Linked DNA regions of Homo sapiens: all the other regions are linked to region 2. Evidence: promoter capture Hi-C in 16 types of primary human blood cells and fetal thymus (Javierre and others, 2016). All regions are on one chromosome and are shown on one strand. Each heading gives the region's core, a stretch centred on a gene start or on the middle of the fragment in contact. The rest is flanking DNA. Distances are from core to core; before and after follow the strand shown. Region 1 overlaps STRIP1 (striatin interacting protein 1). Region 2 holds the start of GNAT2 (G protein subunit alpha transducin 2). Region 3 has its middle 4.6 kb from the start of AHCYL1. Region 4 overlaps LINC01768 (long intergenic non-protein coding RNA 1768). Region 5 has its middle 23 kb from the start of AHCYL1. Region 6 overlaps AHCYL1 (adenosylhomocysteinase like 1).

Evidence for each region. Contacts are between HindIII fragments. The CHiCAGO score rates a contact against its expected background, and 5 or more counts as called.
Region 1: a contact is called between a fragment that was not itself captured here and the fragment with the promoter of GNAT2 in region 2, in 3 of 17 cell types (M0 macrophages, naive B cells and activated CD4 T cells). The highest score is 6.7, in M0 macrophages.
Region 3: a fragment that was not itself captured here is called in contact with the fragment with the promoter of GNAT2 in region 2 in 9 of 17 cell types (fetal thymus, erythroblasts, megakaryocytes and 6 more); the score reaches 8.1 in fetal thymus.
Region 4: a contact is called between a fragment that was not itself captured here and the fragment with the promoter of GNAT2 in region 2, in 1 of 17 cell types (M0 macrophages). The highest score is 5.0, in M0 macrophages.
Region 5: a contact is called between a fragment that was not itself captured here and the fragment with the promoter of GNAT2 in region 2, in 2 of 17 cell types (erythroblasts and M1 macrophages). The highest score is 5.9, in erythroblasts.
Region 6: a contact is called between a fragment that was not itself captured here and the fragment with the promoter of GNAT2 in region 2, in 13 of 17 cell types (naive CD8 T cells, M0 macrophages, naive CD4 T cells and 10 more). The highest score is 9.1, in naive CD8 T cells.

What each region holds. Positions count from the first base shown.
Region 1 is chr1:110,039,988-110,044,470 of GRCh38, forward strand. STRIP1 (striatin interacting protein 1) reads left to right here. Exons shown (of 21, transcript NM_033088.4): 6 at 648-716; 7 at 1,549-1,655; 8 at 1,747-1,874; 9 at 3,101-3,283; 10 at 3,652-3,869. Among named protein-coding and RNA genes, the nearest start is that of STRIP1, 7.6 kb to the left of the region's middle. The HindIII fragment of the contact is 1,300 bases long and covers 1,385-2,684 here.
Region 2 is chr1:109,617,790-109,622,247 of GRCh38, forward strand. GNAT2 (G protein subunit alpha transducin 2) reads right to left here and starts at 1,827. Exons shown (of 9, transcript NM_001377295.2): 1 at 1,694-1,827. It overlaps AMPD2 (adenosine monophosphate deaminase 2), which reads left to right and starts at 2,048. Exons shown (of 19, transcript NM_001368809.2): 1 at 2,048-2,489; 2 at 3,125-3,477. The coding sequence starts at 3,387. RefSeq lists enhancers at 1,215-1,745, 1,726-1,775, 1,746-2,274, 2,796-2,845, 2,805-3,333 and 2 more and a silencer at 1,966-2,155. The HindIII fragment of the contact is 17,616 bases long and covers 1-4,458 here.
Region 3 is chr1:109,977,694-109,982,684 of GRCh38, forward strand. No RefSeq gene overlaps it. Among named protein-coding and RNA genes, the nearest start is that of AHCYL1, 4.6 kb to the right of the region's middle. The HindIII fragment of the contact is 497 bases long and covers 1,894-2,390 here.
Region 4 is chr1:109,898,526-109,903,548 of GRCh38, forward strand. All of the region lies in intron 4 of LINC01768 (long intergenic non-protein coding RNA 1768), which reads left to right. Among named protein-coding and RNA genes, the nearest start is that of CSF1, 9.8 kb to the right of the region's middle. The HindIII fragment of the contact is 1,782 bases long and covers 1,760-3,541 here.
Region 5 is chr1:109,958,985-109,963,982 of GRCh38, forward strand. No RefSeq gene overlaps it. Among named protein-coding and RNA genes, the nearest start is that of AHCYL1, 23 kb to the right of the region's middle. RefSeq lists enhancers at 835-1,406, 1,407-1,976. The HindIII fragment of the contact is 7,765 bases long and covers 1-4,998 here.
Region 6 is chr1:110,020,260-110,025,072 of GRCh38, forward strand. It overlaps AHCYL1 (adenosylhomocysteinase like 1), which reads left to right. Exons shown (of 17, transcript NM_006621.7): 16 at 472-592; 17 at 1,415-3,483. The coding sequence ends at 1,421. Among named protein-coding and RNA genes, the nearest start is that of STRIP1, 12 kb to the right of the region's middle. The HindIII fragment of the contact is 837 bases long and covers 2,961-3,797 here.

The DNA.
Region 1 (4,483 bases), core at 785-3,284, 420 kb after region 2:
AGCTCATTGAGTGCCTGTGTGTCCCGGGCATTGTTCTCAGAATATTACATGTGCTAATTCATGTTAAGGATATAGGTACTACTGTCATCCCCATTTTACAGATGAGGAAACTAAGGCGCAGTTAGAGCCAGGATTCAAACCGTGGCAGTCCAGTGCATGGCTGGGTTTTTTGTTTTTGTTTTTGTGTTTTTTTTGTTTTTGTTTTTGTTTTTGAGAGAGAGTCTTGTTCTGTTGCCCAGGCTGGAGTGATATGGCGTGAACTTGGCTCATTGCAACCTCCACCTCCCGGCTTCAAGCTATTCTCCTGCCTCAGCCTTCTGAGTAGCTGGGTTTACAGGTGCCTGCCACCACACCCAGCTAATTTTTGTATTTTTAGTAGAGATGGGGTTTCGCCATGTTGGCCAGGCTGGTCTCAAACTCTTGACCTCAGGTGATCCACCCGCCTCGGCCTCCCGAAGTACTGGGATTACAGGCATGAGCCACCATGCCCAGCCATGGTCTGGTTTCTTAACCACCGTGTCCTGTGGCCTCTTGTGCAGTCCAAGCACGTATCACAGCATTTTGTTTCCCCATTGGTCAGTACTTGTCAGGGACATCACTTATCTTCCTTCTTGGAGGAAGATGCTGACTCTCAAAATCTCCTGCAGCAACAGTGCCGCCTGCAGCAGTGCTGTGAGGAAGCCTGCCATCTCCCTGGCTGACAGCACAGACCTCAGGTGAGGCGAGCAGCAAGCCTGGGCTCCTGAGCGTTAGTCAGAGATGAGATCAGAGCAGGGTGTGGGAGGCTGTCTGTGGGTGTCATTGCTGTGTGTGCTTCTGTACACATCATCTGCATGTGTGATGGGCTCAGTGTGAATGATTAGTAGGAACTGCTGAGGGCTCGTCCTAGGTGGGACTCTGGGTTGAGACTCCCAAAGGCAATCCAGGGTCAAGTGACTTACTAGAGCCACAGCTAAGTGTGGCCTCCTACTCACACTGTTACTCAGGACCTGGTCGTGGGGTATTTTGTATTTGGATGAAACACTTGATGGTGTTCCCTGGACTCCCACCTTCTTGTGTACACAGCTTGATGCTCATCTTCATTGGGTTAGACCTGACAGCTTCCTAATGTTTCATGGCTGCCCAGGAGCTCACAGCAACTGCTGACCACCAAGATCACCCCTCAGTTTTTGAGGGTTGAAATCTGGCTCTTTTTATGAATTTGGAAGTTTTTAGACTAGGTGGTTGTAGTGTTGCCTCCCGGGTGTTAGGATCCCTGGGCGTCACCTCTCAGCTCCTGCTTTCCATTTCCTCATCATAAACCCTGTTTTTGTTCTCACTGTGACCCTGTTCTGCTTTGACCCTACAGCTCGCTACCACCTCTGTGGTTTTTTTCTTTTCAGGAAGCTTAGGGTGGTAAATGCTTTTGGCCATTCTTGTTCATACTCATTTATTCAGATACCATTTATTAATAGTAAGCCCCTGCTTTGTGTAAGCACTTTGTTAGACACTAGGGTGCTCCTTTGACCCCCCCATCCCACTCCATTGTGAGCTGGCTCTTGTCCTCAGGGTCCTGCTCAACATCATGTACCTGATAGTGGAGACCGTTCATCAGGAGTGTGAGGGTGACAAGGCTGAGTGGAGGACCATGCGGCAGACCTTCAGAGCCGAGCTGGGTAGGACCCTGGGGATCCTCTCTAGAGGCCCTGCCTGGAAGCTGAGGCGGAAGGCTTTGGGAGGGTCCTGATACCTTTGTGTCACCTCCAGGCTCCCCGCTGTACAACAATGAGCCATTTGCCATCATGCTGTTTGGGATGGTGACCAAATTTTGCAGTGGTCACGCCCCTCACTTTCCCATGAAGAAAGTTCTCTTGCTGCTCTGGAAGACAGTATTGGTGAGCACCTCCTTGGAGGAGGAGAACGGTGCTATGGGATGGGCAGTAGGGAGACTGTTCCTTGAATATCCTTTTGAATATTGAATTATGTGACTGTAAAACTGCTTTGGTAAAAAAAATTATTTAAAAAGCTGCTAAAAGGAGATGACAAAAGAAGGGCCACTATTGTCCCATTGCAGCCAACGAGGACATAGGCCTTGAGTCAGAGTAGGCTGTTGGCTCTCTGACCCCGGAAGCTGTTTTCTGTCATAGAACAGCTCTCCCCCAGACAAGTTGCCTCTCAGCAAGCAGCTCTGGACCTGGAGTTTGTAAAGGGATTTGAGGCAAAGTTACAGCTGATGTAATTGGGGCCCTGGTTGGATATCACTTAAAGGGGCAAGAGTGAGCCCTGAGCCAGCCTCCATTTTCTTCAGGGTATGGTGTCAGCCCGACTCTGTGTCTAGGTAGGGAGGGACTGGGTGCCAGAGTGGGCCGTCCAGCACACTGGGCTTGGAGCGTTGTTAGCAGCCAGGCCATGCCAGGAGGCCTTCCCAGGAGGAGTGACATGGGGAGGCGGTGGAGGTGAGTTGGGCCTCTGCTACACTGGGGCTCATCCTTCCTTTCAGAATGGGTCAACTCTGGAGCCAGGGCTCAGTAAGTATAGGATTTCTTAAAAGTCATTGACACATTTTATCTTGGCCACACATTCTGTTCTTCATAAAGCCTTGCTAAGGCTAGAGAGGAAAGCTGAATTGCTCAGAAACAGTAAAACTAAGCAGTCTAAAGCTGGATGTTGCTGGCGTTTCTGCTTCTTGGGAGATGTTTAGATGAAGCTTTTTTTCTTCTTCTAAAGTTGAGCAACCAACAGTATTTCTAATTTGACTTTGAAAGACTTGCATGTACAACTTGTGAAACATGAGTCTCACCAACTTTTCTAGGAACTTGCAGGGTTAGGCTCTTTGCTTCTTTTTAAATTGAAGAGTATGTCATAGGTGCAGAGTTAGTGTATCTGCACTAGGGTCAGTCAGCCTGCATCTCCACTCTTTCCTTGTTCCTTTTTCTCCTTTCCCTTGCGGATGTCACGGAATTCTCCTTGGGAGTGGCTTCAGTCCATTGTTCAGGAGTTGCCTGGGTCTCTATAAAGACATGGGTCATGATGTCATGAATGTTTCTGAGCCTGACACAATGGTCAGGGGCCAGCCTGTGGACACATTGACCCTGGCTCTGCTTCCCTGTCTGTGATGCAGTGCACGCTAGGCGGCTTTGAGGAGCTGCAGAGCATGAAGGCTGAGAAGCGCAGCATCCTGGGCCTCCCCCCGCTTCCTGAGGACAGCATCAAAGTGATTCGCAACATGAGAGCAGCCTCTCCACCAGCATCTGCTTCAGACTTGATTGAGCAGCAGCAGAAACGGGGCCGCCGAGAGCACAAGGTGAGGACGACAGAGGTCCCTGTGACTCCTGAGGGCCCTCAAGGTGCATGCTTGCAGCAGCACAGTCCTTGGAGGAGCAGGGCTGCTGGAAATGATCTCTGATCAGCCAGTCAGAATCATGCCTCCACAGCGAGGATACTTTGTCCCCAGCTCTGGTCCAGTGTATGGTGAGTGCTCAGCACGTGGTGCTTTTGAGGGACTGGAGCAAGAAGTAGTTGATGGTTTGGCCCCCGTCTTGACTCCCACTGTGGTTTTTCCACTGTTCTTGCCTCTACTGGACACCTGTATGTGCTGTGTCTCCTCTGGCTGCACTTCCCTGGTCTGCGTCCTCAGTTGGCTCTTGTCTCATCTCCCTTCCCTGGTTTCAGGCTCTGATAAAGCAGGACAACCTAGATGCCTTCAACGAGCGGGATCCCTACAAGGCTGATGACTCTCGAGAAGAGGAAGAGGAGAATGATGATGACAACAGTCTGGAGGGGGAGACGTTTCCCCTGGAACGGGATGAAGTGATGCCTCCCCCGCTACAGCACCCACAGACTGACAGGCTGACTTGCCCCAAAGGGCTCCCGTGGGCTCCCAAGGTCAGGTGAGTCTCAGACCTCCAGAGCACTCATAGTTCCTGAGGCAGAGCCCTCACACCCTCAGGCCTGCCACCTGGCCTGTGTCACCATGTGTGGTCCTCTGCAGGGCAGGCTGACCGTGGCTCTGGGATGAGGCTCTCTTAAAGCACCCTGTGCTGTCCTGAGGGTCTCAGGGAGGCCGGCCTTGCTGGTCTCACACAACATGGCCCTCATGTGGCTACTGAGGCAGTAATTGGAGTTAGCTCTTGGTTAGATGTGCTAGTGAAGGGGGATAGGAAACAAATAAAAACAAAAGCATTTAAGCAAACATGTCTCCACCCATCCTGGGGTTGTGTATGGTTTTTAACAAAAATGATAGATTAAGGAAGAGTTTCTTTAGAGCCATAATGAAAATGTTTGAGATATATGTGGGTAAATCGATGGATGGGACGGTACCTGGAGATATATAAATGGTGTCTGTTTGATAGGCAGCAGCTTAAGAAATAGATGAACATGTGAGAGGATATAGAAGTCGCTTTCTTGATCCAGGTAAAGCCTCAGTTTTCAGTGATCTGTGAAGGGAATGCAAAACAGATCATCAGAAAATGCAAGGTATGCTGATTGTTTGGGATAGGAAAAG
Region 2 (4,458 bases), core at 577-3,076:
AGACCTGGCCCAATGCAAGATACTATCTTTAAAACTATGTCAACATTTGCATCTTATCAGAAGATACATGACATTTATGTAGTTACATGGTGCTTGATTTTTGAGATTCATTTTATTCATTCTTGAGAGTCCATCAGCCTCAAAATCCCTAAGCGCCCCAAGACCAATTCAGTGGGCCATAAATGTAAACAGAATAGTTTAAGTCTGGGGTTAAGACCCCGGGAAGGCTGGGTTGGGGGGACTGTGGAGGCAATTACAGATTTTTACAGATTTTTGTTGATTTCTATCCCCTTGATTATAAAAGTTATGGGTATGTATTATAATTTCTAAAATGCAAATAAATATAAAGAAAATAAATATAACCCATAATTCCATCACTACAGATAATCATTGGTAAACTTGTTGGTGTGTTTCTTTTCTACCCATGTATATCACATAAGTAGGACCATACTGTGTATAGTGTTTTGCATCCATTCTTTTACCTAACTTTATATTGTAAACATTTCCACATCATTAAACATTTCTCCAAGAACAATTTTTAATGGCTGTATTTCATGGTATGAATATTACATAAACATTCCCCTATTGTTCGACCTTTAAAGTATCTAACTTTTCTATGCAATACACATTGTGGTGCTGAACAACTTTTTGCATACATATTTTTCTGGCAGCTCTTTTTAGAAAAACAACTTCCAGAAAGTTGATTACTGGGTCAAATAATAAGAACCTTTTTGAAAATTTTGATTCTATATTACCAGATGGCTTTCAGAAAGATTATATCAGTGTTCAAGGCCACCAGTAATGTGTTTGTGCACATGTACGTGTGTGTGTGTCTCCCATCTCACTAACTATACCCTTGCCAACCTGCATTAGCGTTTATTTTTTGGTTTTTTGTTTTTTAGTCTTTGCTATTTTGATTAGGTAAACCTGGTTATCTCTGTTCTCTTTTTAGTTTTATGGATTCTGTGTGAGGTGAAGAGGCCAAGTTTTTTTTAAGTTTGTTCAGGGAACAGTAGCCAGGGATCAATGGAAGTGGCACCAGATGCAGGTGGAGAAAAGGGTTCAGGGTCCAGAATCCAGCGTGGGGAGAGAAGAGGGAGGCAGAGTTTGGGAAGGATCTCTGCTGTGGGAGTGGTAAGAACTGGGAGGAGCCAGACAAACAGCATTAGAACAACTGGGTGTGGGGGGCAAAGGCCTCCCACAAGAGGGAAAATAGGGAAGAGATTAATTCCTGCTAATGCATTTAATTATATTCAGTGAAGTCTTAGGGACTTCCCTCCACAAGTTCCCTTTAGGTCGGATTATCTACCCCTTGGCAGTGGGGATGCTTGTTGGATAGACCCCAGAACGGCTGCAAGTGAATCAACCTGTGAGTGTCAATAGAGAACCAAGGCCAAGGCTAAAGCAATGGTAATACATGAATACTGAGTACTAACTACAGGCCAGGCACAGTTCTAAGCAGTTAACTTATATTAACTCATTTATCTTAACCACCATATAAAGCAGGTACTCTTACACTCATTTTACAGACGAAATAGAAGCACAGAGAAGTTAGGTAACTTGCCCAGTATCAGTCAGGAAGTAGGTGAAATCTGGATTTGAACCCAGACATTCTGGCTAGAGTTAAAGCTCTTAACCACCAAATACAGAAATGTGGGAAGGGGAGCCAGAATTGCAGGGCACAGCCTCCTACCTACGCCGGCCGGAAGAAAACAGACGACCAAGTGAGATTGCAGGGGCAGGACTTCTGCTTAAAATGAATCCTGGGACAATGATAACAGCTACCTTTCACTGGGCCCTCACTTCGTGCCAGGCACTGTGTAAAGGGACTTTACGTTTAATCTTCACAGTAACCCCTTTGAGTGAGGTACTGTCATTACCCCATCTTACTGATGAGGAAGCTGACGCACGGAACTGGCCCAAGACCCAGGGTCGGCTCAGGCCAGCCCTACCGCGGTGTGGTGGCTGCCCACGTGGCGCCCAGGAAGAGAAAAAAATGGCGAGGCGGGGTCGGCAGGCGGAGGCGGGGCCAGGCGGGGGCGGGGCCAAGGGCCGCAGAGCCTGGCGCGGAGCCGGCGAGATTTTGGTGGGGTCTCACCTGTTGCGTGACTCCCCCACAGTCCGGCCGCGGGAGTCCGACCCTGAATGCCCAGGGAGTGTTGAGAGAAATCTGGACGAGTTTCGGGTCCCGCTCCCTTGGGAGCACGTGGCCTACCAGCCTCTCGATTGCAGGGTTGGGTGGTCGCGACACCGGGGTCGCCTTGAGGCCAGTCCGGCTGCCGAGGTCTGCGGGAGTCCACCTCCGGCCAGCTGGCAATTTTGAAAGACTGCCTTACTTTCCCCATCTCAGTGCCAGGGCAGGGGCCCTTGGAGTGACTTGGCTGGGGTCTGTGGCCCGATCCCCCTGCCGTCCCTCAGGACCCGGGCTTTCTGCTGTACAGACTTCTCGTGGGCAGCCTCCCCTCGGAACTCGGGCATCATGGCCTCAGGTGAGTGTGTGTACGTGTGTTGGAGGGAGGGTCTCTGGGACAGAGAAGTGCTGTGGCCAGAGTGACAAGAGGGTGGGAGTCACAGCACAGCAGCAGGACCTAGGGAAGGCGGTCAGCTCCTCCCAGGAGGGCCTGGGGAGCAGAGCCAGAGTGTGCAGAGACAGAGGAAAAATCCAAAGAGGCTAGGGTCTCTGTCCCAGACCCCCAGACAAGGGGGTCTCCTGGCCTTCCTGCCTTCCTGGGAGGTAGCTATTTGGCGACGGTGGAATTTTCCCGGGACAGGCCCCTCCCTCCTGGGCTGGGATTCTCGGTTCTTCCCCCTCCTCCCAGAGCTGGGCTACCCCGGGAGCTGAGGGTCAGATGTGGAAGGAAAGTGGGTGCTGGGTTTTCACGGAGTATGCCTGCCCTGCCCCGGGAGGACTGTGTTTGAGCTTGGACTCGCTCGCTGCTGAATTCCTGTTTGTTATTCTTTTTTCTTCCAGGCTAGCTGGAAGGACCAGCTAGCCTGGACTTTGGCTTCTTTGCCCGGGAGCCCTGGCATGATGGGGTGAGGGCTCTTGGTGGGTTAGTGGAGAGCTGGGGGCTGGCCCTTCCCCATCTTCTTTTCTACCCACCCCCTCCCCGCCCCCCGCCAGGCCCAGCCACCATCAGTCACGTCACTCCTGGGACTGAGGAGGCAGGGGAGGGATAAGGGGCAGAGATGGAGGCCCCACTCCCCGAGGTTGCCTAGACAACATGAGAAATCGTGGCCAGGGCCTCTTCCGCCTGCGGAGCCGCTGCTTCCTGCATCAGTCACTCCCGCTGGGGGCGGGGCGGAGGAAGGGGTTGGATGTGGCAGAGCCAGGCCCCAGCCGGTGCCGCTCAGACTCCCCCGCTGTCGCCGCCGTGGTCCCAGCCATGGCATCCTATCCATCTGGCTCTGGCAAGCCCAAGGCCAAATATCCCTTTAAGAAGCGGGCCAGCCTGCAGGCCTCCACTGCAGCTCCAGGTGAGTGTGTGCTTCCTGGCCTCAGGATAGATGCTGGGCTCTGTCTTGCCACCTCTCGCCCAAGGTGCTGGTCCCCTCAGAGGGGGCCACCTCCTCCGGCATCCTCTCTGTGGTGGTGCCCCTCAACCTCAGTCCCAGGGACAGCCGGCTTGGAAGGTGGGGTGAGGGGTGGTGGGGGGCGGGGGGTGGATCTGAGATATCTGTGCCAGGGATGCTGTCCTCTGTCACAAGGAGTGGGCATGGTGTGGGTGCAGCAAGAGGTGTGTATGCACACGTGTCAGCGTGTGCATGTGCTAAGACTGCGTGTGAAGCATGTGTGAATGGAGCGGGGGTGTGTGGGACTGACTGTTTTGTGGACTGGCCACTCTGACTGGCGCCTGTGCCTTTACCAGGCAGGCTTAGGCTGTTCTGTGGCTAGTTCCACTTTTTAGGACCCCACATCTAGATCCCCCTCACTGGGGGTCTGACATCTGGGCACAACCATTGCTGGCTGGCATCCCACAACTGGGGGCTTGACTGTATCTATCGTTTGCTATTTGCTCATTCCTGGTCTATATTGTGAGCCTCCTTAGGAGTATGGGGTGTCCTTGGTCAGGTCCGTGCAGGGTTCAGGCTGGGGCTGCTGCCCGCACTGTGTGTGCTTCTGCACCCTTTGGTTCGTCTCTCACTCTAGTAAGCATCTCTGCATCATTTGGAGCAGGCAGTGAGGTGCGGCAGTGCCTGTCTCAGTGAGGGCTTGGCTGCCTGGCTCTGTGCTTGCAGAGGGATATCTGCCTGCTGTCTGCTCCCAGGCCTTGTGGCTAAGGAAAGACCCACCCTGACTTTGATGACCAGATCATGCCGACTGCCCCCACCCTTGCAGCTGTCTGTAGCTATAGCCCAAGTATCAACCTCCTATATTTTTTTGTTTCATTGAAGATGACTGGTGCAAGGTCTCTACTGTCCTGAGGGTGTTCTCTGTGCCCAGGTCTGTGCCATCCA
Region 3 (4,991 bases), core at 892-3,391, 360 kb after region 2:
TGTGGAGAGGCCAAGGTCCAAGCTCCTGGTTCTGGCATGAGATCCATCGTTGCCGTTGGTCTAAAATATTGTGTTGACCCTCCGTCAGGACTCTGTGGAAGTGTGGAAGTGGCATGAGCTCATGTTGGAGGCTGAAGAGCTCTGTCCTCACTGCTGCAGAATGGGACAAATGCTGAGGGTGTGGAGGACAAGGCTTAACTCTTTCCCCGGGGAAGAGGCCAGGCTTGCGTTGTGCATGTGGAGCCTTCAACCCTTAAAAGGCTGTCCAGGCAGAGCTCCTGGAATCGTGGAGGAGAAGGGAGGTTTTCAAGACCAGGGTTGAGAGGCATGAGGAGCAGCCTTGGGAATCCAGGTTGGTTGCAGGGAGGGCTTGAGAGGGTGAAATGGTTAATGGTTTGTTGAAAAACAGGGAGAGTCCCTCCTCCAGGGGCCCAGCTGGCTGCAAAGCCAGGAGCAGAGACTCCAAGGGTGATGCAATGGGGCCCGCCCTGCACACCAGAGAGGGTGAGGAAGGCAGGCTCCCACCCCGCAGCAGCCTCCGCACCACCAGCAGCCGACCACTCTCCTCTGGCTCCAGCAAACCAGCCACAGGCCGGGCCCTTCAGGGCAAAGGGGCAAGACCCTGAGCACCTGAGCTTTGGGAGATGGCAGCTTCTGTCTGTTCCACTCCATCAGCCCCAGAGCCTTTCCAGTCAAGACAAATCCTCTACTAGCCCCCAGCAGGCATCCTGAAGGAGTACCCACCAGGATATCAAACCATCCTGGCCACCTGTGTCTCTGCGATTCCAGGACTATTTCCAGTCCTAGAGGCAGGTTGCAGGTTATGGGTAGAGAGGCAGGCCTGGGAGAGGCAAAGACAGGCAGTGTCCTCCCTTATCCCAGAAGCTGACACTTACATCTCACCAGCCCACTCACCATTGCCCTGGGGGAGCACATCTGCCAGGGAAGCAGTATCCCAGAAGCTTCTAAAAGACTTGGGGCTACTTCAAGGGTGGGTCAGCATCTCTGAACTCGGGAGAGAGACTGCTCTTCCTTCCCTAGCATGGGGCTAGACACAGCCTCAGAAGCAGGGAGAGGAAGCATGCCACACACTCTGGAAGACCGCTCAGGGTGGGGCACATGGAGACAGCAAGGAGAGGGTGTGCCCTCTCAGACAGTACTGGGAACCTTGATTTTCTGACAAAGCTCTGCTATGGACTCTAAGCCCCATGAGGACAGGAACTGTGTCTGTCTTGTTTACTGTGGGATCCCTGGCGCTCAGCACAGCTCCCGAGACAAAGCTGATGCTCAGTAAATAACTGACTGGGCAGAGGCCAAAGTCCAAGGCCAGTTTCACAATTTCTACTTTTTTGGTAAACTCTTCACCATCCCCACCTCCATCCTCCCCGCTCCCATATACACACTTAAGAGCAGGAAAAAACATACAAAGTAGCACAAACAGTCATCAGAACAGATTTCTTGAACATTGTTTACAATTGGTGGATGCCTTCTCAGTATGAACTTTAATGTGTGGCAGCTTTGGGAACTGAAGTAAGATACATCAGGATCTCTGGTCCAACCTAGAAAAAAAGCATGTGAGGAAGTTCCAAGGGGCTGCTGGTCACACAGCCAGACCCCGGGGCCAGGTTGGGCCAGGAAAGCAGCAATTTCTCATGGCTGGGGCAGTGTCAGCCCTCCCTTTTGAGGAAACACATCCACATGTCAACAAGTACTCAAAACCAGCAATGACAATCCTTTCCTGCAGCAGACGGGTTTCTGCTTATTCCTGTCATTCCGGGAAGCGGAGCGAAGAGAGAATTCCAAATTCTCAACAATAGCTCCTTTGCCCTCCATGGTTAGCCTGGACCCACATCTTAGTACCTTACATTTGCACAATATTTGCAACTTGTTCAAAGCTTTTGCATATTTATGATCTTACTGGATTAGGTCATTACAAGCCCCAGATGGAGAGCTATCAACCTGTCTTGCATGAGGAAGAGGAGGTCAAAAAAGGTCCAGGATGCCAGTGGCCAAGTTAGTAGCAGAGTGAAGATTTGAGCCCACATCTCTGCCCAGTTTTCCTGCTTCCTCACACCATGCAGCCTCGCCATGAGTCAGCTATCACGAGTTCCAGACACAGGACCTCAGATCCTCTAGGGCCAAAAGGTGCCTCCTTATCCTGGTCCTTGTTTACAGTCATTATAACTGCCCCCACTACTTACATTTTTGCTCCCTTTCTCTGGCAGGAGCTGGTGCTGTGACCCATCTTCGCCTGTTTTGCTTGAAAGCCATCCCCACACCCACTCCGAAACCACCTCCCTCCATTCCATTATATTGCACTAGTTGGAAACAATTCAAATACCGAACAATAGGAAAACAGTTAAGCAAACTCATAAAGCAATATGACAGAAAGCTTGGAAAACATGGACAATAATAACAAGTATGTCAATGCTCTCCGTTCGGGTCATGTGTTTTTGAAATATTGTAATTTGATCAAAGCAGAATACAAAAGGACATGAACCTACCAATCACAGGTATGTAAAAATGAGTTTCTGCAAATTGCTAAGAACTAGGAGTGAACTTAACAAGATGAAAAGAAATTTTTAAAAAATCTTCATGGATTTTTCTTTCCTATAATGTTCAAAATGATAATAAAGAGTAAGTGATCCTAATAAATATGACAATAATAAGCAGAGGGGGAGACAGAGAAGGAGGAATGTTTTCCCACTGGAACTGGAGAAGGGGAAGGAGAAAAGGCTGAGGGTAGGGAGGGAGGGAGCTCGGTGGGAAGTAGGAGCCAGGAAGCCTGAGGACCAGCACCCACAGCCACAGAGGTGCAACCGGGAGCCCACCCTCTGGGGGTCCCTAAGGGCCAGCGAGGTAGGTGACCAATCTGAAGTGGTGCTCCAGGGCACCTTTCACAATAATTACAATGTCAGTGGTGCCTCCTAGAGCTGTGCAAGGTAGCAGTTCTGGGACAGAAAGAAGCCTGGAGCTGGAGGGTTTGCCCATGCTGGAGAGCTAGAGACAGAGCCACTGCCCTCTTCACCTTCTTCCGAACTTCCATTGTCACCCAAGATCTCTGCAGTTTTTCTGCACTTTCATTCCAGAGGGCTAACATAACACCTGGCCGACAGGAGGTGAAAGGCCTTCAGGAGGAGCACAGCCTCCCCCTGGTGGGGAGCCTGACTGGCAGGGAGCGGGCAGTTCCAAAAGGTGCCAACCTGGGCTCCCCTGAGACTCAGGGACAGTGCCCTCCACAGACATATCAAACTCAACATGTCCCAAGCTGACTCCTCTCAGCAGCCCCCCTCCACCCCTCTAGCCACACTTGCTTCTCCTCCTGTGCTCCCCAGCATGGCAGACATCACCACCACCCACCCAGGGCTTAACACGCCCTGCAGGATCTGGCCCTGGCTTCAGCGCTCACTTCACCCTGCTTTGCACCCTGTGCCCCACCCACATGGGGATATTTACAGTTCCCGTAATATGCCAAGCTGTTTCCATCACCATGCCTATTCTCAGGCTGTTTCTTCAGCCTGGAGAATCTTCCCTCCCTTGCCCAGCTGCTTATCTGTCAAGACTCAGCTCTGGCAGCATCTCCCTCTGTGTCATCCCTTTGCCCTCCACTGCACCCCACCCCCATCACCTGTCCCCACGTAGAGATCAGCACCTCAGCTTATTTATCTCTGTAGTCCCGACTGACATCTAGCCCTGCTGCTGGCACTTCTTCGGCACTCAATATATATTTTATAAATAAAAGAACAAATGACTGAATGTAGAACATCAATTTGGGGGTGGACAAACAGTGAATCTGATTAACAAGACCAAGCCCACGTGTGGTAGCCCAATGCCACTACATTTCTGGTGACAGCATCTCCCAATTCACCACTGCCCTTAGGCCACTCCTTTCTAGCAAGGGTCTTCGCTCCAGGCCCTTGGAGACTTCCCACCACCACACACAGCAGGTGCATCTGTCTTTGGGTCCCTGTTCTTCTCCAATTGCCCCGTGGGGGGTCTCTCACCTGTGTGTGGATGCGCTGTTCAGGGCAGTGAGCTTGCCAGTAGAGGTGCTGAGTCAGGTGGGTGGGTAGGCTGAAGACAAGTCATCTCTTGGCATTCATGAGAAGCAATCGCCTTAGCTGTGCCATGTGAGGCTATCTTAGGATGGGTTTTGGGGGTGGGAGACAGGATGCAATGATTCTCACGGATGTTATGTTGTCACACTCCCTGGCTGGGTGAGCTCTTTGCTCTCCAGCACACACGTGATGGAAGGGATGGCAGCCACCCATGCCCCCTGCAGTGGCTGGTTTCCAAGAATGTCCCGGGCCCCTGGCCTCACTTGAACCACATAGGCCTAATGCTTTCCACCAGGGTAGGGGGTGCTGCCCTTCCCCTTTCCAGTCTGAGTCCCCGAACTCTCCTACATCAGCTCATCAACCTCCCCTCAGGCCAGCCACTCAGGTGAGTGGAGTCTGACCTGCTGATCTCCTTCTTAGCCCAGACTGCTAAGGTACTGCATGCTCTAGGCCTGGCCCTGTCTGTCATCCTCTGTAGCAGCAGCAATAGCAGACAACACTGTGAGCCTGGTGCTAGGGCAGACCTGGTCCAGGAGGAGTAAAGACTGAACTTCAATCTCCAGGAAGCTCACAGTCTGGATGCTTAAATGCACAGCAGAACTGGGGGACTGAGAGACAACATGTTTAGACAAAGTGAGTTCTAAAAATCAAATCCAAAAGACAGATACACTGATGCTTCTCTTTAAAAAAAAAAAAAAAAAAAAAAAAAAGATCTTCTTAAGTCACACATTTTTCTACTATAGGGACTTGAGATTTCATCCCTGGTTCCAATGGGTTCTGCCTCGAGTCTTTGGGCAGGCATCTCTGATCCCTGGGCTCTGCCAACAGTTTGGGCAAACCCACAAGGATGAAAGCCACTGTGAGCCTTATGTTCAGAGAGTCCTTAGTGCACCAGGTGTGGTTCCTGACCCCTAGCTGAAAGATGTCAGTCTG
Region 4 (5,023 bases), core at 1,401-3,900, 280 kb after region 2:
GCTGAGGTGGGAGAATCACTTGAACCTGGGAGGCGGAGGTTGCAGTGAGCCAAGATCGTGCCACTATGCTCCAGCCTGGGTGACAGAGCAAGAGATCAAGACTTTGTCTTAAAAAAAAAAAAGATTTATCCCGTGGATGGCTATCCGATTTTTGTCAGACATGGGATGAATAATGGCAGATTCTAAAAATATTTACTATCTGGCCCTTTACAGAAAAGATCTGTAGACCCCTGTAGTAACTCAGTTAATCCTCATCAGTACAATTAAGGTCAGTGCTGTTACTATCTCCATTTTACAGATAAGGCAACTGAAGCACAGAGGCACAGAAGGCTTGTCCAAGGTTGCATAGCTAGTAAGTACAGAGGCTGGAGTTGAATCCAGGCAGTCTTGCTCCAGCCCATGTTACTAATCATTCCCTTTCTAAGAATGTTACCTGCTTCATTCCCTTTCTAAGAATGATCAGGAGGTGGTGGGTGGGGTGGGAGGGATAGGCTGGCCAACGTCATCATGGGAGCAGCACAGCAGGAAGGAGAGCTGGAAGTCCAGCAGAGCCCTGATGACCCAGGGCTATTGTTTTTGAGGCTTGGCCTGATTCTGGGACCCAGAGCTCTCAAATTCTGTTTCCTAGAGCCGGAGTCCTACCCATAAACATACATAAACACCCCCAACCTTCCCAATCTGAAGATTGAGTGTAGAATATTCCCCACTTAGGACTTGAGGTCTCAACATTTTCCTTAAACTTTGACCCCTGCTATGAGTTGTCTACATGAGAATTGTCTTAGTCTGTTTTCTGCTGCTATAACAGAATACTCGAGACTGGGTAATTTATAAAGAAAATAAATTTATTTCCCCAGTTCTGGAAGCAGGGAAGTCCAAGGGCATGGCCCCAGCATCTGCATGGCATCTGGTGAGGGCCTTCTTGCTGCGTTATAACAGAGTAGAAGGGCAAGCAAGCATGTGAGACACAGAGAGAGAAGCATCAGGGGCCAGACTCAATGGATAACAGCACACTTTCATGATAACATTAATCCATCCATGAGGACTTCCCATCATGGCCCAATCACTTTTTAGTAGGCCCCACCTCCCAGCATGGTCATATTGGGGATTAAGTTTCCAACACATGAACTTTTGGGGGATGTGTTAAAACCATAGCAAGAACAAGGATCCAGTAGTCTCTGATTTAACACAATTTAGGTTAATTTAAGGTTGAATACACTGTTATTTAAAAAGATGACGGGTGAGGTGGCTCATGCCTGTAAACCCAGCGCTTTGGGAGTCCGAGGCAGGTGGATCACCTGAGGTCAGGAGTTCAAGACCAGCCTGGCCAACATTGTGAAACCCCATCTCTACTAAAGGTACAAAAATTAGCTGGGCGTGGTGGCTAAAGCCTGTAGTCCCAGCAATTCAGGAGGCTGAGGCAGGAGAATTGCTTGAACCCAAGAGGCGGAGGTTGCAGTGAGCTGAGATCGTGCCACTGCATGCGAAACTCCATCTCAAAAAAAAGAAATTTTTTTTTTGTAGTTCCACAAAAGAATGATCTGGCTTCTATGGGCTTCACAGTTTAAACATGTTCAAGAACTTCCCATTCTTCTGATGTTGAAATTTGGATGCAGTCCAACTCAGAGGTTAAAACACACACACACACACACACACACACACACACACACACACGACAAGAAGTAAATCCTCTAGAATCAGAAGAAAAATTGCAGCCTTGAAAATCACAGCTTTACTCATGAGGCCGCCTAGAAGTGCTAGAAGCTTCTTCTTACTTATAAGAAATGAAAAAAAAAAAAGGGGGCAGGTGTCGAGGAGGATGGGAGGATGGGACAAGCTGCTGGAAGGTGTAGTGAGCGCTGAACAGGTCAGCCCCATCCTGGTGCAGAGGCCTGGTCTGAGACGCTCCGCCGTGGAGGCATGTCCTGGAAAGTGTATGCTGGTGAGGAGCAGTGGAAAGGCTTCCCTACTCCTAATCTTCTGGACTTTGGAGGCTGCTCTAAAGTTTACCAAGACTTCACATTTGCCATCACATTTGCTCATGACAAGGCCCTGAGGGAGGAGTTACTTCTATCCCCATCAGAGAGGTTCTACAGTTTGCCAAAAGTCACACAATAAGGGGCATGACATGATGGTCCTCCTCTTGAATAGATTCCTTGCTTATGGAGCAATCTCCAGATGATTCACTGGGGAGCCTGAAAGAGGGACAGGGTCATTTGGGTGGGGACTGAGGTATTTCAATTCGCCTGTCTCACTCTCCACTGTGCTCCGGTACCAAGACCTAGATCCTCACTCAGTATTTGTGCAGGGTATTGAAACTCCATGTCCCTACTCTAGGCAGGTACAGGTGTGTAGGGCAGGCACAGACGGAAGCTGCAAATAAGCTGGCACAGGGAAAAGGGTTAGGAGAGGGATGTAAAGTGCCACTGAGATTCTGAGGAAGATGAGACCATGTGGGTCAGGGAAACAGAACTCTCGTTGGTGAAGAGAGCAGCCGAGAGGGCCTTGAGGGGGTTTATTTCCACAGGTGGGGATGGAGGCATAGTGACACCTTCTGTGGCTTTGCCTCTGCCAGCCTTGCCAGACTTCTTCCCCTCCAACCCTCTGCCACTCACACTCACCACACCAAGCCAGACTCCCCTCCCCACTTTGCCTTTGCTGCTCCCTCTGCCTGGGATCCCCTTCCCTGCCCCTCCCTTCTGTCCTTGTCTTGGCTCACCTGTCATCATCCCTGAAAACTGAGCCTGACCCTGGACTTTCTCCTTAAGGCTCCCAGAGCAACCTGGGCTTCCTCCCCGATAGCACTAACTATGGGGTGCTGTCACTGCCTGCTTCCAGCCCCACCCCTACAGCCCACTGGACTGTGAGCTCACTGACAGTAGACTGTCTTCTACTTTGGAAATCCCAGCACGTAACCTTAAGCCAGGCACACAGAAAACATTCAATAAAGATTTATCCAGGGCATGGCTATTGAATTTTTGTCAGGTGTAGGGGTGCATAATGGAAAACAAGATGGAAGCAGAAGGTGGGGACCAACACGAAGAAGGCCCTGGCATCAGTCAAGGGTGCTAGCATTTACTCTGTGGGTGTGTGGAGCCACTGTCAGCACTAGGTGAGGCCACAGCAGGGAGGACAATGCCCACTGGTAGGACTGCTATGCCACATGAGGGCTAGAGCAGAGCAAGGTCAGACCAAGAGCGAGGAAGGCCTGACAGGTGCCCCAGCATCCTGTATGCATGCAGGTCTCTGCAGCCTTTGGAGAGCCTAGACAAGCACCCCGAGTTCTGCTAGTACCTGGGTTAAATTGACAGAGTGAGTTCTGACCTGCAGCTATGGCATCCTGCCAGAACCCATGACCTCACCCAAGTGCAGAGGGCCCATGACAAGCATGTGACACAGCAGTCAGCACTGGGACAGGCCACAGTGGGATGAAAGGGTGGAGCTTAGCTTAGAAATAGGGGAGGGAAAAGGTTACTTCCAGCAGAGAGAATGATCTGGATTCGTAAAATCCATTCATTCACTCATGCATTCATCCATTCAACAAAGCTTTATTGAGCACCTAGTATATATGGGTTCCATGGGAGATAAAAGCTATCTCTACTCTCATAGTTCAGTAAGAAGAAGGGTAAGAAATGTACATAAACACAAGAGAGACACAGAGACCAAGAACCATGGGGCCAGAGGAGAGAGGAAGCATTCCTGTTGAGAGTAAGGGGGAATGTTTCCCGAGGAGGGGACATTTCAGACGGGCCCTAAAGATGAGTACAAGGAGATTCCAACAAGAAGACATGGGAGGGGCAAGCAGGGATGGCAGGAGACCTTGAGCTCCTGGGGGTGGGAACCATGGCAATCTGGTTCCTAATTGTCCCTGGTCCCCATGTGGTGATCCGTGAGCATTTGTCTTGTTTGTTGAATGAGACAATGACTGTTTCCTGGTCCCGCCTTCGCTCTTCACCGGATCCACCACTGATTACCCAAATTTCTCCCTCTGCAGCACTTAGTCTCCTGAGCTCTGTTCCTTCTGCCAAACCCACATCTTGGACCTCAAAGGCAAAATATCCATTTCTCTGACCCCACAGACCCTCTCCTCATATCCTTGATCTCACCCCTGCCTATCCCCAGGACCCTGCTCCTTCAGTGGCCTTGTCTCTCCATCTGCTTAGCTTCTCCCTCTGTGGGCTCCTTCCCTTTCGCTGGTAAACCTGTATAAGTGTCTGGCACTCCCCCAAGCCCTCACTTCCTAATGAGATGCTGCATTTCCTAAGGACAAGTCCAGGCAGCACCAGATGTGCCTCTTCACGGACCCCATCAGACAGTGCCCTATGCTTGGAAAACATTCATTGAATGGATGGATCCAATCCTGTCATCTCCTAGCATCCTCAGTGGTTCTCAATGTAAAGTCAAATGTCACGTGTATGACCTACAGATGCCCAATGAATGGGATTGGTCTGGCCTGTCTCTCACTTCCTCTAGTCTTCCTCCCCAGCTCCAATCATTCCTGAGTAATTATACTACCCAGAACCCACTACACTGCCCTCGCCTCTCCTGAGTTTGTGCATGCTGTTCCCTCTCTCTGGAATGAATGCTCCTTCCCTACTTCTGTGCCACGTGCACTTTTGCTCTCAATGCAGCTCAAGGGTCTCCTCCTCCCATGAGACTGTGAGCTTCCTGGGAGTAAAACATGGTCCTAGTTAATAACTTTAGCCCTAGTGCCTAGGTAGGTGCTCAATAGATGTTCATTAAGTAAGCAAATTAAGGAATGTAGGGAGAAGTGCTAGTGATTCCAGAGGCATACGCTCAATTTTCCTCTTGAGTCCTGGCTCCCACCTGCAAAAAGGGGTGAAATTGCTTAGGGGCATGGAGTGTCCAAGAAGACATGAACCCATAGTCTGGTTTCCTCCAAACTCAGCTCTAGGAAGATTCTTCTTTTAAGCTGGCTTAAAGAATTAGGCGTGTGCTCAATGATTTTCTTTTAATTCAAGGCAGAACTGGAGTATGACTTCTATTGTCATGTTCTAAAAATATA
Region 5 (4,998 bases), core at 2,113-4,612, 340 kb after region 2:
GTGCTTGGCTATTATTACTATTTACACTTATCGTTATTAAGAGGTGTAGGAGGAATACAGAGCAAAGAGAGCCGTTAAATTTAGAATTTAGGGTTGTGTGCGGTGGCTCATGCCTGTAATCCCAGCACTTTGGGAGACTGAGGCAGGTGGATCACTTGAGGTCAGGAGTTGGAGACCACCCTAGCCAACATGGTGAGACTCCGTCTCTACTAAAAATACAAAAAAAATTAGCAGGGCGTGGTGGTAGTCCCAGCTACTCGGGAGGCTAAGGCAGGAGAATCGCTTGTACCTGGGAGGCAAAGGTTGCAGTGAGCCGAGATGGTGCCACTGCACACCAGCCTAGGCAACAGGAGACTCTGTCAAAAAAAAAAAAAAAAATTAGAATTTGGGTAGCTTTGGAGGAGATAGTTTGGGTGTGGAACGGAGTGAGGGGGACCTCTAGTCATTGTCATGGTGATACTAACCATCAAATACTGAGCCTACACTCCAAACACATCATTTCATTAATCCTCACAATAAATCCTAACGTCAGTGGTATCACCCCAATTGTCAAAAGGAGGAAACCAAACCTCAGAAAACATTTTTGAGTTTCAAGGTCACAGAGCTAGTAAGTGGTTGAGCTGGGTTCAAACCCAAACTCATTTGATTTCAAAGCATGTGCTCCAATTTTAACTTTTATTATCTTATTCTGAATAATCTGGGAGCTGAGAATATTCTGGAAATAAAATCCAGGTTAGAGACCTGCCAAGAGCCTAGACAGTGAGTTAAGCTGGGCTAAGGCACTGAGTAAACTCAGAAATGTCTGTTTGTCATCTCCCTGTGCTTACTGCTCCTGTTGTTAAAGATGTCTTAGCATCTTAAACAACTGAGCTTGTGCTGAACCAGTGAACTACATTGGGTGTGGGAGCTGGTCCTTGGGGGAAAAAAATCTCTCCCTGCACCCATATGTTTAGAAGCAGAAAGTTACCCGTGATTTTAAGAAAGCTGCCTTTTAGGAGACTGCCCTGGGCCTGGCTTATCACATGAATACAGAATACTGGTTTGCATTTCACCAGCCTACATCAGATGTTTGTTTTAGCATACCATACATTCTTAAAGCATGCGGGACAAGGAGATGCACTCCAGGAAGGGCCCTTTCAAAGTTTCGACTGGCTGTAACCTCTTTTGACCTTTGCTCTAGTGCACAGGCTCATCCTAGTCAAAGACTTGTCTTCAGCATTACAAAATTTAGAAACCAACTCTGAATTCACATGCATTGTTTGCCAATGTTTTTCAAGTCTTCTCACTTCCAGCTGGATGGTCTTAAATGTACTCTGACCCACACAGTTTCAGGCAAGTTGCAGAGCGCTTTGTAGGTATCCGATAAGTATGCCCTGAATTGAGAGGCTAATTAAACAAGAGGAATTTAGCAATATCACCTCTTGGCGTGAGTATTATGTAGCATCTGTAGTCGGGAGGGGTGGAGGGGTTGTAGAGCAGGGGTGACTTCTTTAAAACCTCTCAGTTTGCATATATGCCTCCCCTACGAAAAGTCCTGCTGGTAATAAACATAATCTGCCCTGTGTGTTCCCACCACAGGGGGGACATATAGCATGAATAAGAACTGGCTTCCCTTAGAGAGCTTTTCCAAAGGACACCATCTATTTACTCAGCAAATATTTACTGAGCAAAATGGGAGGAGAAGGGCATTCTGGGGAGAGAGAAGAGTTTGAACAAAGCTAAAAAGGAGGGAAAACCAGGAGTATGTATGGGATACACTGAATAGTCAAATTCAGGTGATAAAATCTGAAAGGTAGGAGGGAACTGATAAGTAGAGCTTTGAATGCGTGGCAAGGAGTTTGGACTTACTGAAACAGGCAAAAGGGAGCCAAAGAAGATTTTGAGCAAGTGATAAACATAATAAAAAATGCTTATTAGGCAAGTTAATATGCCAGCAGTTCCTAAATTGGACTGGGTTGAAGAATAACAATATAAAGCAGCCAGCAATGATTGAGTAGTTACTATGTACCCAGCACCATGCCAAACTCTTTGCATACATTTTCTCATTTAATGAAAGTAATAATTAATGCATTTAAGACTCAGTGTCTGGCCCATAATGTATTCCAACCCTCACAATCATCCTGTAAATTGAGTATTATTACCTCAGTTTTATAGGTGATGTCTATATTGGTCTGTTTGCTATTGCTTATAACAGAATACCTGAAACTGACTAACTTCTAAAGAAGTTTATTTCTTACAGTGATGGAGGCTAAGAAGTCCCAGGCTGAGGGGCTGCATCTGGCGAGTCTTCTTGCTGGTAGGGAGTCCCCAGGTAGTTCGGGGCACCCCATGGTGAGAGGCTGAGCAAGCTAATTAACTAATTAATTAACCATTTAATCCATTAATCCATGAATGAATTAATACACAAATGAGGGCACTGTTCACATCAAATGTTTGAGAGTTTTTTTTGTTTTTTTTTTTTCTTTTTTCTGTGTCTAAAGGGTTTTTATTTAAGAGCCTGTAGTGCTGAGTTCCACCAAGGATTTGGAAGGTCACTCTCAGCAGCAGCCACTTCTGCCAGGACCAGTGGTGAGCACCTGGCAGGGCCTTGCTGTTTCCACATAAGGCAAAGGAATCCAGCTTTTCTGTAGGATTTTTGCTGCAGCTGTTCAAAACCTTGTGTGAGCCAGCAGTTCCAGTTCAAAGGTTAAGAGGGCGCATAGCACCTAGGTGGCCAGGTTCCTGTAAGTCACCACTCAGGCCATAAGTCACCACGGAGGGGAGAGACAAAGCAGCCACAGCTGTTCTGTTTCCAGTCCCACCCCTCTGGCAAACAGATGGGGGGAAATGGAGAAGAAAAGTTCACAAAGTCGGTGAAATGGCCAGGCACGGTGGCTCACACCTGTAATCCCAGCACTTTGGGAGGCCAAGGCAGGTGGATCACCGGAGGTCAGGAGTTTGAGACCAGCCTGGCCAACATGATGAAACCCCATCTCTACTAAAAATACAAAAATCAGCTAGGCATAGTGGCAGCCTCCTGTAATCCCAGCCACTCGGGAGGCTGAGACAGGAGAATCGCTTGAACCCAGAGGTGGAGGTTGCAGTGAGCCAAGATCACGCCACTGCACTCCAGCCTGGGCGACAGAGTAAGACCCCACCGAAAAAAAAAAAAAGTAGGTGAAATGAAGAGGGCAGAGGAGCTGCAGGCAACTACTTGCAGGCCCCACCACACACCTGACAGTTCTGCCTTCAAGATCCAATCACCTCTTAAAGGCCCTACCTCTCAATACTGCCACAGTGGGGGTTAAATTTCAACACGAGTTTTGGAGGGGACCAATACTGAAACTATAGCACTGCCCAAGGTTCAAAGAGGTTAAGTATTTTATACCAAAGATCAAAGAGCTATACGTGGCAGAGCTAGGATTTAATCTCAGGTTGATCTGCCACCAAAGTTGACTCTTAAGACAGGGAAGTATTAGGAAGCAATTTCAAAAGTCCTGACAAGTGGTGATGGACTAGGGGAGGGCAGGGGGAAAAAGACAGGAAAACGGATGTACAACTAAGTTACAATTGCATAGCACACATGACATGGTAATTGAGAAATCTTTAGATAGAGAGAATGGTCAAAGATGACCCAAAGTTTCAAACATGAATGACCAACAGAAAGGTGGCACCAGACTGAAAATCCAGAACCTAAGAGGCAAAGTCAATTAAAGGGATTCTGAATATATTGAATTTGATGCGTTGATGATAACCATGTGGAGATAACTTGCTAACATTTGGAAAAATTTTATTATTCCTTATACTCTGTTCCTCATTTATAACTCCTCATTCTTTTATTTAAAAAATTTTAAGAACAACTGAAAAATCAACAGCTCTTCTTAGATCCTTCAGAGAAGTGAGGTCACGGGACAAATCACTGCCTCTAAAATTAGAGAGACAGATACAGAGAATTACAACTTAACCAAGGCAGAAACCCATGAGCAGAAACTTCTGTGGGAACCAGTATTAGGGTAGAACAACTTAAACTGTAATTGATAAATTGCTAGAGGCTCCATTGTGGACAAGTCTGAGAAATAAAAACTCCAGGGGGTCCCAGTCAGAGGGAGGCCTCACAAGTTTTTTGTGAGGTTTAGCTCCATGAGCTCTACCAGGTTCTCACAGAGAGTACTAGAGAAAAATCCCTTTATACTTCTAGGGAAAAGTAACCATTTTGAAATATGCCAGAGCATTCTGTTCTTCTGGACAAGGTCTGCCTTCAAGGGAAACGATTTTACCAGAGCCTAACCTAATGGGGTTTTATCAGCGCCTAAAACCAACTGGGGGGAAGAGAAATACCCAACTCCAGCCCACTGCAGCCATCGTGTCCCACATTGCAAGTTGAGGTGGATATTGAGAAGCACTGTGAAGTTTACAGCCCAGGGGCACAGGCTTACTAAAAAACTGAGACCTCATTATATAGAATGCTTATCCTCTCCCTACGTCTTAACTCCACACCACTAAGGACTGTTTGCCAGAGTTCCTTTTACCCAGTACATTGTATCTGGTGTGCAACAAAAAAAAGTGTAAGACATACTGAAAGTCAAAAAACATAGTTTAAAAAGACAGAGCAAGCATTATAACCAAGCTCAGGTATAGCAGGGATGTTGGAATTATCAGACCAGGATTTTAAAACAACTATGATTAATATATTAAGGCCTGTAATGGAAATAGTAGACGACATACAAGAACAAATGGGTAAGCAGAGGGATGGAGATTCTAAGAAAGAATTTTAATAATGCTAAAGATAAAAAAACACTGCAACAAAAAGGAAGAATGCCTTTGATGGGCTCATTAGCACACTAGACGTGGCTGAGGAATCTCTCAGATTGAGGATATGGCAATAGAAACTTCCAAAGAGAAAAGAGACTGAAAAAAAAAAAGGAAGAGAATTTCAAGAACTGTGGGACAACTACAAAAGGTGGAAAATAGGCATAATGGAAATATCAAAAGGAGGAGAAAAAGAGAAAGGAACAGAAG
Region 6 (4,813 bases), core at 2,129-4,628, 400 kb after region 2:
CTACCTTAGAAATTCATGATCCTAAGATCCATGGATCTTATCCTAAATGAGTGTTATTGACACAGGGTCTTTCTAGCTTACTGGTGTCCACTTTGATTGCTAATTTGACTATAATCTAGTTAAGGAGGTTGCTGCAGGAAGGTAGGAGTAGCATGTGACATGTGGGCCACTGCAGGGAAGCCCCCTGCTTTGCCAGAGAAGGATAGAGAGGTAAAAGCCCACTCCCTTTTGTTACCCTGGTAAGTGGCTTTTCTGAACGCACTGTACATGTGCTGAGAGAAGCATCCTGCCCAGAAAGGCAGCTTTGAGGTTTTTTTTTTAATTAAGCAAATATTTCAAGTTGTGGATTCTTTCAGAGTTATTCCATCCCTTGTCTGCTTTCTTAAAAAAGCTTCAAATGAAAATGGGAAGTTATAACTTGAGAGACATTTTGAAAAGGAGTCTGCTCTCCTGCCACTTTGCTCTTCCTAGATGAATACGTTGCCAGCTTGCATCTGCCATCATTTGATGCCCACCTTACAGAGCTGACAGATGACCAAGCAAAATATCTGGGACTCAACAAAAATGGGCCATTCAAACCTAATTATTACAGGTAACCTGGGGAGAAGCAAGTGAAAAGCTCTTTTTCCCAGTATTAAACCAAGCAGGCTAGCCTGCTTCTGACATAAAGATCAAATGTTGTACCTGATTTTGAAGAATACAAGAAATCTGTTCCAGGCCAGGCACGGTGGCTCACGCCTGTAATCCCAGCACTTTGAGAGGCCTAGGCGGATGGATCACTTGAGGTCAGGAGTTCAAGACCAGCCTGGCCAACATGGCGAAACCCTATCTCTTAGCCGGGTGTGGTGGCGGGCACCTGTCATCCCAGTTACTCAGGTGGCTGAGGCACGAGAATCACTTGAACCTGGGAGGCGGAGGTTGCAGTGAGCTGGGATCATGCCACTGCACTCCAGCCTGGGTGATGGAGTGAGACTCTGTCTTAAAAACAAACAAACAAACAAAAAAACTGTTCCAGTTAACAAGGTAGATAGAGAAATTGTGGGAGATATCAGGGAGTTAGGGTTTTTTTGAAATTTTGGAGCCTGGGCCTCACCCTAAGAGATTCTGATATATTTGGTCTGCGATGGGACCAAATTTACAAAACATTATTTTGTAAAACCTCCCCAGATTATTGTAATGTTTAGTCAGGGTTGAAAAAACACTGACTCATTCCTGGGAACAGGCGGTAACACCAGAAATGGCATTGTCAGAGACCCTGTGGAAGAATAAGGGAGACTGGTGCCCTGGGGAATGACTGCAGGGATCCCACCCAGGCTGGGGAGGGGCCCTGGAGAAGGTGCTCTGTTTCCGATTGTTTTTTGGAATTCTCATATGGAAGACATAAGTGTTAACCAATCACTCTCTCTCTTTACAGATACTAATGGACCATACTACCAAGGACCAGTCCACCTGAACCACACACTCTAAAGAAATATTTTTTAAGATAACTTTTATTTTCTTCTTACTCCTTTCCTCTTGATTTTTTTCCTATAATTTCATTCTTGTTTTTTCATCTCATTATCCAAGTTCTGCAGACCACACAGGAACTTGCTTCATGGCTCTTTAGATGAAATAGAAGTTCAGGGTTCCTCACTCTAGTCACTAAAGAAGGATTTTACTCTCCCAGCCCAGAAAGGTGATTCTTTCTTTACCATTTCTGGGGACTTTAGTCTTAATTAGGTACCTTATTAACAGGAAATGCTAAGGTACCTTCTCTGTGGAACAATCTGCAATGTCTAAATCGCCTTAAAAGAGCCCATTTCTTAGCTGCTGAAATCAGTGCTCTTTCACTTCTTCAGAGAAGCAGGGATGGTACCTACCCGGCAGGTAGGTTAGATGTGGGTGGTGCATGTTAATTTCCCTTAGAAGTTCCAAGCCCTGTTTCCTGCGTAAAGGTGGTATGTCCAGTTCAGAGATGTGTATAATGAGCATGGCTTGTTAAGATCAGGAGGCCCACTTGGATTTATAGTATAGCCCTTCCTCCACTCCCACCAGACTTGCTCATTTTTCGAGTTTTTAACTAGACTACACTCTATTGAGTTTAATTTTGTCCTCTAGGATTTATTTCTGTTGTCCAAAAAAAAAAAAAAAGAAAAGAAAAATTAAGGAGAATTTTTGGTGTTAATGCTGAGGAATTGCTTGAGTGGTTAGTTGTTACCAATTTCTCTTTTGAACCTTTGGAGCTAAGGATGCTGAGTCTAGAGAAATGCTAGTCTCAAGCCCTGTTAAGTCCCTCTGTTTCTAGCCCGTAGTTCATAGCATCAGTGAACTGGAGCCACAACAGCAAATTCTATCAGCTGTGTACCATACAGCTTGTGCTGAAGGCGAATTTCTTGAGCCATTACTCAGTATAAAGCACTGAGTTCTATCTTTAGGATTTATCTTTAAGAGCAAATTTCTGGTCAGCTGTGCTTCTGCAACCTAAAATATTTAAAGGGAGGTAGGTGTGGGCAGGAGGAGGAATGATAAATTGGGCCAGGGCAAGAAAAATCTAGCTTCATATAATTTGTCTGGGACTATACACCCTATATAATGTTAGTTTTACAGAAGTAATATGACTTTTGATTGCTACATACCACAAAGAGTTTATGAACTGAGATCATAAAGGGCAACTGATGTGTGAAGAAAGTAGTCAGTACATCCTGGCTCATGCTCTGAAAGAATATCCAGAGAGGCTCTCTCAAAGATCAGGGAGATGTATTCCCATGCCATGCACCCTGCTTCCCAGCATTTCTGCATGGTCAAGTGAGCTTTATGCTCATGAGCTTTAAGTATATAATTATCCAGGATTTTAAATCCTCAACTTGTTCTAGCTTGTGATCCCTCAAAGTTGGGTCATACGTTAGTGCTAGATACTAGAAATTTTCACTTTTCCACTGATCAGAGAGACAGACATTAAAAACAAAAATAGAAGAAAGGAAAGCTTTCACCCTGCAGCTTCTTAGCAGGGAACAATTGTCTTGCCAAAACTTTTTTCCCTTTTCTCTCCCATTTTCTTTTACCCAATCCCTTCTTACTCCTTGCCAGTGTGACCATGCTTTCTTCTCTGTAGATGTTAACAGTTAAGGCCTATTTTCCTCGGGCACTTAACCAACCAATCAGAACACCACATCTGTTAGGGGAGGTAACCTGGCCAACAGTGTATCCATCACGTTAGCCCTGCTGGAGGGAAGGGACCCACATTCACCTGCCCTCTGACCTGCCCCTTGATCCCATATCTATTACCGTGTCCATAGGAATAATAGGTAAGGGCTCTGTCTCTGTCAAGCCATGTAACAAAGGACACTGTTAAAAAAAAAAAAAAGTCTGGCATCAGAGGGAGCATGTGGAGAGCAACTTGGGAAGAACAAGTTCATTTTGTATTGAATGATTTTTAATGAATGCAATATTAATCCTTGCAGATGAGCAATAATCATTAAAATCGATTAAAATGATAAGACCTTATTGGCAGTCCGTATGTGTCATTCTTTGTTAAACAGCAAAACTTCATTAGAACCTGTTTTCTAGGGTGTGACAAGTTATAGGTCAGTAGCATTTAATAGAGATTTGTTGAGGGCCTAATATATAGAGGCTGGATACAGGATTCTTCAAAGTAATACCTGAAGTTTTGTATGCCTGCTCTGTGCCAAGCACCGGGCCTGGGTACTTTCACTCCTAACTTCCTTCAGGAAGCAGACTTGCTGCTTAAGCCTCAGGGTTCCTCATTTGCATAGTCCTTCTAAGACCTAATTTCTGAAGAATGCCCCCAAAGTTATGTAAGCTTCAGCCTCCTCCCACACCTGTATCCATTTCTGAAGTGGTCTCAGTGTCTTTTTTTTTTTTTTTTCTCTTTATTTTTTTGAGACAAGGTCTCACTGTCACCCAGGTTGGAGTGCAGTGGCTTGATCTCAGCTCACTGCAACTTCTGCCTTCCGGGCTCAAGTGATCCTCCCACCTCAACCTCCCAAGTAGCTGGGACCACAGTGTCAGCTAATTGTTTGTATTTTTGGTAGAGATGGGGTTTCGCCATGAAATCTAGGCTGATCTCAAACTCCTGGGCTCAAGTGATCCTCCTGCCTCTGCCTCCCAAAGTGCTGGGATTACTGGCCAGTGTCTTCTGATGTAAGAAAGTATTTATCTTGGTCAGTTTCTGCTGCTCCAGCAAAATCCTGAGACTGAGTAATTTATAAAGAACAGAAATTGATATTCTCACAGTTGGAGGCTGGGAAGTCCAAGGTCAAGTCGTTGGCAGATTTGGTGTCTGAAGAGGGCTGCTGCCTGCTTCCAAGATGGTACCTCTTATGCATCCTCATATAGCAGAAGGTAGAAGGGCAAAAAGGACCTAACTATTACCTCATATATGCCAAAGTCTGTTTTAGATACTGGGGATACATCAGTTTAAATCAGATGATCTCTTCCTTTGTGGTGTTTACGTAAAATTCCAACAAGATCCAAATTCCTTCCCTTTTTCCTTTACCCACAATTTGGCCATTAGGTAAGACAGAGCAAGCTAGGGATTCATGTGGATTTGCAGCCTGTGAGTGTGGGTGGTATCCTTGTGGGAACTGGGGATGTAGCTTGGTACAAGGAGTCAGATCCCAAGTGGCGTGGGGAATGCATCTATGCAGGGGATGAATGGCAATGGCAGATTAGTTAGGGATAAGGGATTTGATCACTGTACGTGAAAATATTAAGGGTAGCGGAAGCCAGCTGTCTCATTTTGGAGGAAGGTGTTACACATTGGAAAGGGAAAACACTAGAATGAACTCTGCTGTTGGGTTTGAATAGGAGATGA